Regions from separate parts of the Homo sapiens genome. Here region 2 is linked to region 1. Evidence: promoter capture Hi-C in 16 types of primary human blood cells and fetal thymus (Javierre and others, 2016). All regions are on one chromosome and are shown on one strand. Each heading gives the region's core, a stretch centred on a gene start or on the middle of the fragment in contact. The rest is flanking DNA. Distances are from core to core; before and after follow the strand shown. Region 1 holds the start of SLC26A9 (solute carrier family 26 member 9). Region 2 has its middle 6.5 kb from the start of RHEX.

The links. Contacts are between HindIII fragments. The CHiCAGO score rates a contact against its expected background, and 5 or more counts as called.
Region 2: a fragment that was not itself captured here is called in contact with the fragment with the promoter of SLC26A9 in region 1 in 5 of 17 cell types (neutrophils, M2 macrophages, non-activated CD4 T cells and 2 more); the score reaches 9.2 in neutrophils.

What each region holds. Positions count from the first base shown.
Region 1 is chr1:205,941,552-205,945,994 of GRCh38, reverse strand. It overlaps SLC26A9 (solute carrier family 26 member 9), which reads left to right and starts at 2,539. Exons shown (of 21, transcript NM_052934.4): 1 at 2,539-2,630. The region is part of intron 2 of SLC26A9-AS1 (SLC26A9 and RAB7B antisense RNA 1); the gene reads right to left. The HindIII fragment of the contact is 4,358 bases long and covers 1-3,471 here.
Region 2 is chr1:206,044,491-206,048,933 of GRCh38, reverse strand. No RefSeq gene overlaps it. Among named protein-coding and RNA genes, the nearest start is that of RHEX, 6.5 kb to the left of the region's middle. RefSeq lists an enhancer at 1,182-1,351. The HindIII fragment of the contact is 4,180 bases long and covers 372-4,443 here.

The DNA of each region.
Region 1 (4,443 bases), core at 1,290-3,789:
TCCATCTTCCTTGGTGACTTCAGAGGAATCTCTGGGTTCGTCTATCCCTACTGCCCCTATAATGCAAGGGCTACCTGCCCAGAATTTTGCTGAGACAGTAGAAAAGTTTTGAGGAGGACAAACAACAAGTTTCCAATTCCAGCATGTATCCTGGAGGCCCCAGACGTCTTCATCCAGGTTACATTAGGAGTTATACCAGCAAGGGAGCCTAATGGTATCTAAAAGGTATGGTCTTTTGTAGGATCTCATCCTTAGCTTCGCAGGCTCAAAGGTTAAGATGATATCGTAGACTAAGCAGAGGATTTGAAGCCATTTTAGCCAAGTTAGATTCCTGCCTCTTCCATTCAGATCTTTGTGATCTTGGATAAGTGATTTCACTTCAGTCAACTCAGTTTTCTCATCAAAAAATGACAGTAACATGCCTATATGTTTGGTATAAGAATTAAACCAAATCACCTGTGGGAAAACCAAGTGTTACTGTGGAAACTAGGTCAGACTCAGGGGATACTAACTCACATTAATAAAACTCACACTGGACCAATGGGTAGCCCAGAATGTCCATGGGTCATTTAAAAGAGAAGCATGCCTGCAAAAGCAGCCCTAGTCGCTCCAACCAGCTGGGCAGTGCATTCTCTGCCCTAAAGGACATACAACCAGAAGATTCCCTGGTGGACATGGTGTCTCAGCAAGGGGACTTAGTTGTTTGATCTTGATAGCCACTGTCACCTGGCTATCGGAAGAACATAATGACTCATCTGCTTTCTAGGAATTTCCTGGGCAAAGTTTAGAACAGGTCAGGCTACCCATGACACTGGACAATACTGAAGATGCATGGACAAATTCTCGCCCTCTGGCTTTGCTTTGTTTAAAGACTCTATCATACAATTGTTCATTCATTCCTCAAATCTATATTGAGCTCCTCCTAAGTGCCGGGCACTGGGCTAGGTGGGTAGGGATACAAAAGAGGCACTGCCCCCTTGCCCTCCTCAGGGAGTTCACGGTGTTTGCAGAAAGACTGACAATTCCATACATAATTACCATTAATTGTGGTCAGTGTTATGAGAGTGAAGCAGAGGAAGCCAGAGGAACGAATGTGCAACATGTCAGCTAAGTCCACATAGGGGTCTGGGGAAGGGCTCCCCGAGGCAGTGTCCATGCACACATCCTTCCCTCAGCCAGGTGTCAGGGCACACTTGGGTCACTTGAATTCTGGCTCTCTTCAGCCAGTTGTCTGGCTACACCCTGACAACTCTGAGTGACCTCGGGTGTTTCCCTAGTCCCCACAAGCAATGCATCTACAAACTATCCCTTGGGTTGGGCTTGCAGACAATTCACTCTTTCATTCATTTAACAAATATTTATTGAGTCCCTATTAAGTACTGAAGCTAGCTCATTTCACCATGGGGAACTTTCGCCCCAACTTCCAGAGGTGCCTTACTGAAGCCCCCTGCACTGATTCCAGCCCACTTCAGAGCCTCTGGTTTCTTTTGGAGAGATGGGAGGACAGTTGAGGACGAGGACAGTGCAGCACTTGATGTCTCAAAGAATGGGCACCTGGTGTCGGGTAGTGACTCTCCCTCCCAGGAAGTAAATTAAGAAACTCCCCTACCCACCCTCCCAGCCCCTGTCCACAATTGCTTTCTGAGGTCCTTCCGTAGCACTCAATGGGCCTGGGATGGGCAGCTCTGCTGGCAGCAGCCGGAGCAGTGCCATGACCCAGGGAGACATTAATTCCTAGAAGCGGCAGAGGGCTGTGACTGGAGATTTGCTAGCCTTCAGGTCGCCTCTCATATAATTGTTCTAAGTCCAGTTTCTTGAGCTCTTTTATCAGATTCTAAACCCCTGTGTTCTCTTTGCACACTACCTGAGGGGCCAGGAATAATTTCCCCCATTGCACTGATGGATAGACCAAGGCACAGAGCTCACAAGCAACTTAACATTGGGGACAGAACTGGGAACCAGGTCTCCACCACAAACCAAAACCGCCTAAAGGCTCCCAGGGCCTCCCAGACATGGTTCTTCCCCTTCCTCAGGGGTGTTCAGAGGACTACTGTCTTCCCACCCCCTAGATCTCCAATCTTCAAAGCAAGCATCCCCAAGAGCACACCCCTCAGGTGGCCTCAATAGCTCCCATTGTCCAAGAGGCTCTTTGGCCTGACCCCCAGCCCCATAAGCAGCAGGACAGCAAGCTCAGAGGAGCTTGTCCTGCCTTGTCCCCCTCCTCTGCCTCGTCCCCCTCCTCCAGGGCCGCCTTGGGGGAGCCGGTGGGGCAGGAGCCCCGCTGAATGTGACCTATTGTCTTCGGGGTGGATTTAGGAAGTGCCAAGCTCCCATCACACAGCCCTGCTCCCCAGGTAAAACAAAAAAAGGGCTGTTCATTTGGGACCTTTTCCCCCTTATCTCCTTTTCCTATCTCCTCAGGCTTAGCTATGGTGTAGTGTTCAAAACCACTTCCCCTCTGAGCCAATCAGAAGCCGGGGCTCACCCCGTGGCCCTGAGGAAAAGTTATTTATAAACGCCTCCCTGGATTATTTGAGCAGAGCCCTTTCACACACCTCAGGAACACCTTTCGGCTGCCCGCTCCCCAGACACACCTGCAGCCCTGCCCAGCCGGCTTTGCTCACCCACTGGTAAGCCCCACCCAGCCCAGCCCACCCCACTGGGCTGGGGTCATCCCTGCAAGAGGGCAGTCACCAGGGGTACCGAGAGGAGGGATGACAGGAACCAACTGCCAAGCTGAGCACAAGTAGGAAGGACACTCTGGCCCCTGGAGTCTGAGAGCAGCCTCCCAGCCCTTCCCCTCTGAGGAGCCCTTTGGGTCTTCACGTCTATGTAAGGACCTGGGCTGCAAGGCTGGGCTTGACTGAGGGAGCAAGTAGGGTGAGGGTGTGGTGGTCGCCAGACCCCGAAACAGAGCGAGGCAAAGGCCTCCGAGGGAAAGGAAAATGTTAGACCTTCCTCCGCGACAGCCTTTGAAGCTGTGGGCTGCTCCTCTCCCTTTCTTTTCAAGTCTTGGAGGGAAAAGCTCTTAATGCTTGACTCACCAGCCTACTCTGCATGGCTGTCTCCCCCTCCTTCTACCGCCCAGACATCCTCCTTCACTCATGTACTTCTCCACCAGCTCGGGGAACTTAGCATGGACTACACAGAATCCCATGTGTCCCCATTAGTCCTGAGAAGTTGGAAGAGGTGGAGGGGGAGGAAACTGAGGAGTGGGAGAGGGTGAGCAAGGGACCAGCTCCATCAGGCAGGCGGGTGGGCGGTAGCTGGACCTGGGACGCCCGACTCAATGGTGAATGCTTCAACACAGAAGGGCTTGGGCCAGGACAGTGGATGGGCAGCCAGCTCTCCAGGCTCTCAGCCTCCAAACCCCTCATCCTGCAGCTCCAAGGGGTTCCAAGCCACTCTCAGGCAGTGCCCCCATTCCTCAAAACCAGCCCAGAGGGTCCCCAGCTGAGACCTAACAAAGCTTCTATTATTCCAGCATCAACTGCCCCCTTACACTTGGCCCCACGGGTCTGAGGACCAGAAGACCCTGGAGTGACGCAGCCCCCCAAGTGGGCAGACTGAGAGAGGGCTTTCCCCCTGAGTGGCTTCACTCATGCAGATGACCCTTTCTCAGAACCCCACAGTCCTCCCCCACCTCCCTCATCCTGGCCCTGGCATCCAGAACCTGGCAAGACCCTGCTTGGGCAGCATGGAGACCAGCATGGCCAAGAGCACCTCCACTGCCAGGAAGGCCTTCCCAGGCACTTCCCAGAGCTAGCCACCTGCTCTCTGAGTCTCATTTGTATAAACCCTGGGGCAGAGACGGACTCCTCTTTATCTTTTAATGCCCAGAGTCTTCCGGAGATTGGCATATACCCAGTATTCAAGAGTGCCTCTTAAACCGTACTAAACAGCCAGACTGACCCCCGTGAACTTGCTGGGGGAATCGAGGACCAGCTCAACACTGACCAAGCTTTGGGGGCTGTGGGGTCACTACTTGGAAGATGGAAGGGGCAGAGCCACCCCTTCAAGGGGAGTTGATCTTCACTGGATGCCTCTCTGGGCTTTCGCCTGGATTTCTGGGACCAGAGCAGCTGGGCCCTTCACTGGTCTCCTTGCCCAGGCCCTGCTTCCAAGTGAAAGCAACCCCAGTCTCCTTAAAGACTTCTAGGAATTTAACCTCAAGTGCCCATTCCAGGGAGCCCATGACCTTGTCAGTCTTGCTGTTAGGAAGTGATTCTCAAAGTCTAGCCTTGGTCCCTCTTTCTGGAGCCTATTTCCTCAGCCCAGCACCCATTCCCAGCAGGGAAAGTGCAGAGGAGGGAGAGTTCGCCTGGAGATAAGGAGTGGGGATTTGGGGGGTGGTATCAGTGAATCTCTCTCCTACACGGGATGCAGTCTCTAAGACACCTTAGGGACATCTCATCCTCCCCTACACTGAGGAGGAAATTAGGC
Region 2 (4,443 bases), core at 1,212-3,711, 100 kb before region 1:
GGAACAGATTGGGTGTTCTCAAATAGCGATGTGTCAAGAGGACAGCAATTGCTTGGACACAAGAATTCCCCCCGGAGCCTGCTGGCTGGCAGTGCAGCGGCTGTGTAGAAAGGCTCTACCAGAGGGGCAAAGTCCAGGCATGAGGCAACAAGGAGGCTCTGAGGTTGGGGGAGCCTGCAGAAGAAGCGGAAGAGGAAGCTGGATAAGTCCGCCGCCCCTGGACTAAGCTGCTGACTACCTCCTGCTGTGATTCCAAGAGCCACTGCCTCAAAAAACTTCCTTGCAGGTGCTGGTGCCTGAAATTCCAGTGGAGGTGTTTCATTCCCTCAGCCAAAGGCAAATTCAATCCCAACAATCTCAAGTATCACTCAAGCTTACACAAGTGTGCAAATAACATTATGGAAGATAGATTCGAAGGTCACACTTTAATAAAACAAGAGAGTGTGTCTATAACAGGAGTGGGGTGGGATGGGTGGAGCGGACGGGAAATGGAGAACAAAGACTCAAAAATATGAAATAAATAGAACATAAGAGCAGTTCGTGGACCCATGATGTAAGAATGCCACTAGGGGGATTGATCAATCTGATTCTGGGTAGCTAAAATCAAAGAAAAAAAAATCCAATCCAGTCAAACTTCTCTGTAGCATATGGTATGTCCTTAGCAGCGTGAGACAGCTTACAAGGATAGAGAAGAATGAGACACGGGCCCTGGGTTCAGAGAGTGCTACCCCACGCTCACCCCCCACCCCAATTTAGCGAGGAAAATATCCGCGGCAACCATAGCAGCTGTAACAAAAGGTAGGTGTATAATCAAAGCTAAAAAGATGTACAAAGAAAGGGCTATTGGATCAGAAAGGAGGAGCAGGTTGTTTCTAACTTTAGTGACGAGGGAAGACTACATGGAGGAGGTGGCATTTGTTGTGGTCACGGATGTGTAGGAAGGATTCCTATGGCAGTGCTGAGGCTGTGGATATACCAGATGGGAGGGTGCTTGTAGTGAAGGCATGGCAGTTGGAATATCCAGCCATTTTTCCTTCGATGAACATCTGAAATCACTGCTAAGAGAGGGAGCATTGTACACCTGAGGGTGAAAGGAAGGCTGTCACCTAGGATGCAGAAGGAGGGAGGAACAGAACCTGGGAAGACAGAGGGCACGAAAGACAGTTCATGAACTTCAAGAGCCCAGTGGACTGAGATCATGTCTGATTTCACTTATCTCCCCGGCTTCTAGGCCAGTGCCTGGAACACAGCAGCCCTCAATAAATGCTCATTGAATGAATGAGAAGTTGGACACACTCCCTTTGCTCTTTTTCAGGCTGGCCACAGATGTGCTGCCGTAACCGAGTGGAGCCATATACTCTCACCATTTCTAGGACTTTAAATGTTTTTCTGGTTGCTTTTGCAGAATTTCATTTCTCCAAATAGAAACCCTGCGTCCTCTTGAGGTTTATTACAGAGGTATTTATTGGTTGGGGTTGCTTTAAAGATCACCATCAGGTTTTCATTTTGCACAGCAGCTTATTTGCAAACGTCAAACAGGTGTCTTAACATTTGGCATCCTAAGAAAATTAAACTGTCAGCCTCTTGGGCTCCTACAAAAGAGCACCAGTGAACATGTGAAGCCAGAACTGTCCACAGGTGACTTAACAGGAACTGATCCCATATTACCATCCTTTACTGGCTCTGCACATATCCTTCATTCAATTTAAAAACATAATAAAAATTTTTTTTAAGCAAGCACATTTTACTTACTTATTTGTTTATTTAGACAAGAGTCTCACTCTGTCGCCCAGGCTGGAGTGCAGTGGCGTGATCTCGGCTCACTGCAACTTCTGCCTCTCGGGTTCAAGTGATTCTCCTGCCTCAGCCTCTCGAGTAGCTGGGATTACAGGCACCCACCACAATGTCCAGCTAATTTTTGTATTTTTAGTAGAGACGGGGTTTTACCATGTTGGCCAGGCTGGTCTCAAATTCCTGACCTCAAGTGATCCACCGGCCTCGGCCTCTCAAAGTGCTGGGATTACAAGCATGAGCCACCGCACCTGGCCGCAAGCACATTTTTAACAAGTGCAAAATGGAAACCTTATGCACATCTTACGATTTCGTTGACGACTCAGAACTGGGGATATCTCGTGTGACCTCCGGTCAGCAGTTTAAAGGATGAGGCATACTTATCCCCATTTGTAGCTGAGGTAACTGAGTGATAAGTGAATTGCTCCAGGTCACAGTTAGCAAACAACAAAACCAGCATCCAAACAGAGGTCTCAAAATCCCTTAAACTACCTTTCATTTACTACACAGATTGTTTCTATATCATCTTTATTAGCTGTAATAACCACATAAATTTTGGAGTAGCTAAGGACAGTTGTTCAGGTTGTTTATTGCTCAAGGGCATGACATCTAAAGAAACTATCCAACCTGTAATCCCAGCACTTTGGGAGGCCAAGGTGGGCAGATAATCTGAGGTTGGGAATTCAAGACTAGCCTGACCAACATGGAGAAACCCTGTCTCTACTAAAAATATAAAAAATTAGCCAGGCGTGGTGGGGCATGCCTGTAATCCCAGCTACTCAGGAGGCTGAGGCAGGAGAATCGCTTGAACCCGGGAGGTGAAGGTTGCAGCGAGCCAAGATCGCACCATTGGACCCCAGCCTGGGCAACAAGAGTGAAACTCCGTCTCAAAAAAAAAAAAAAAGAAAGACAGAAACTATGCACATCACAGACATCATTATGTTGAATTTTTTTCACTTTTTTATTTAACTGCTAACTCTAAAGGTAGATGACATATTCTTATTAAAATAGTTTTCTGACAAATAACAATAAAATGTCTTCTCTAACAAAGATCCTTTTTTATGACAATTTTCTTTCAGATGGAAATAGATTTTCTAACAGGGTTGACATTTACTTCATAAGCTGAAGCAGAGAGTGTTTGACAAAGACCTTATTGGTTTAAGTAACGAGTGCCACAATAACTAGTGCTTCCAAACAAGGAGTTGTTTTCCAACTCTTGTTTTGATTTTTATCTAATTTTTTTTTAAATCCTGTATTAGTATTTGTGTATTGGCTAAATTTGAAGTTTTGCATTACAGTTCATATTGTCTGCCTGAATGGTAGCTCTGAATTCCTAATTTAGATCTACGGATTTTTATTATTACATAACTCACTTTTGTGGTAATTAATGATCATAGGCAATTATATATTCATAAAATAATTATTTTATATTCATAAATTAGAGACTATTATATCATGAATTGTGAATTGTATCATAGCTATTGTTTATGGGTTGTTAAAGAAAATTTCTTCAGGAGAAAAGCTAACTGCTGGTAAAGTTTCATGGCTTATTATATATATTTTTTAAAGTTTTAAGTTCTAGGATAAACTACTATTATGTTTTAATTATGTATATAGATATATACACATATATATATATATATATTTTTTTTTGAGACAGAGTGTCGCTCTGATGCCCAGGCTGGAGTACAGTGGCATGGTCTCAGCTCACTGCAGCCTCCGCCTCCCGGGTTCCAGCTATTCTCCTGCCTCAGCCTCCTGAGTAGCTGGGATTACAAGCATGTGCCACCACGCCTGGCTAATTTTTGTATTTTTAGTAGAGATGGGGTTTCACCATGTTGGTCAGGCTGGTCTTGAACTCCTGGCCTCGTGATCCACCCGCCTCAGCCTCCCAAAGTGCTGGGATTACAGGCATGAGTCATCATGCCCGGCCTTAATAATATTTCTTTAACATTTAATAAGCTAATATAATATTATTTCTCCCAGGATACTGATAAGAAAAAAAAATCAAACTAAAACTAGAAGATGAAAAGCTGTCTAGATAGAAAGTAAAGTAAAACTATTTGGATTATTGAATAAATTTAGGGAGAAATAGAGAGTTTAGGGCTGTTTGTTTCAGTGAATGTGTCACAGAAATGTGAGATGTGAATTTACCTTTTAGTTCCATTGTCAGAAATAATCGATGAATCTAAAAAAAAGTAGCTTTAAAAATGCAAAGAATTCAAACACATGGCCAAGTAGTTTGAATAGGAAACAAAGATGTACTCTTGCTGAAAATTATTCACCTCAAGTAAAAAATTTTTTATCTTTACAAAAGATAATACAGGTTGGAAGTTTTTGGAAATATAATGGACACAAATTTTTTCCAAATGGTGAGGAGAAATAATAATGACTAGATTCTGATTATTTTATTATACTTCCAAGGACTCTGTATTTTGCCAGCTCTTTGAGAACAAAAAATCAGCTGGAAAATGGGAAAGAATGCAAAGATTGTACAGCACTTGGCACATTTTTTTGTAAACATGAAGAATCTGAAATAAACATCAATAGGAATGCTAAGTATTCAAATTTCAAATCTGATTAGAAATATATAATTATTAATGCTGCAAAACAGATTCTATATGATGAGGAAAATATTACATTGAACAAAAA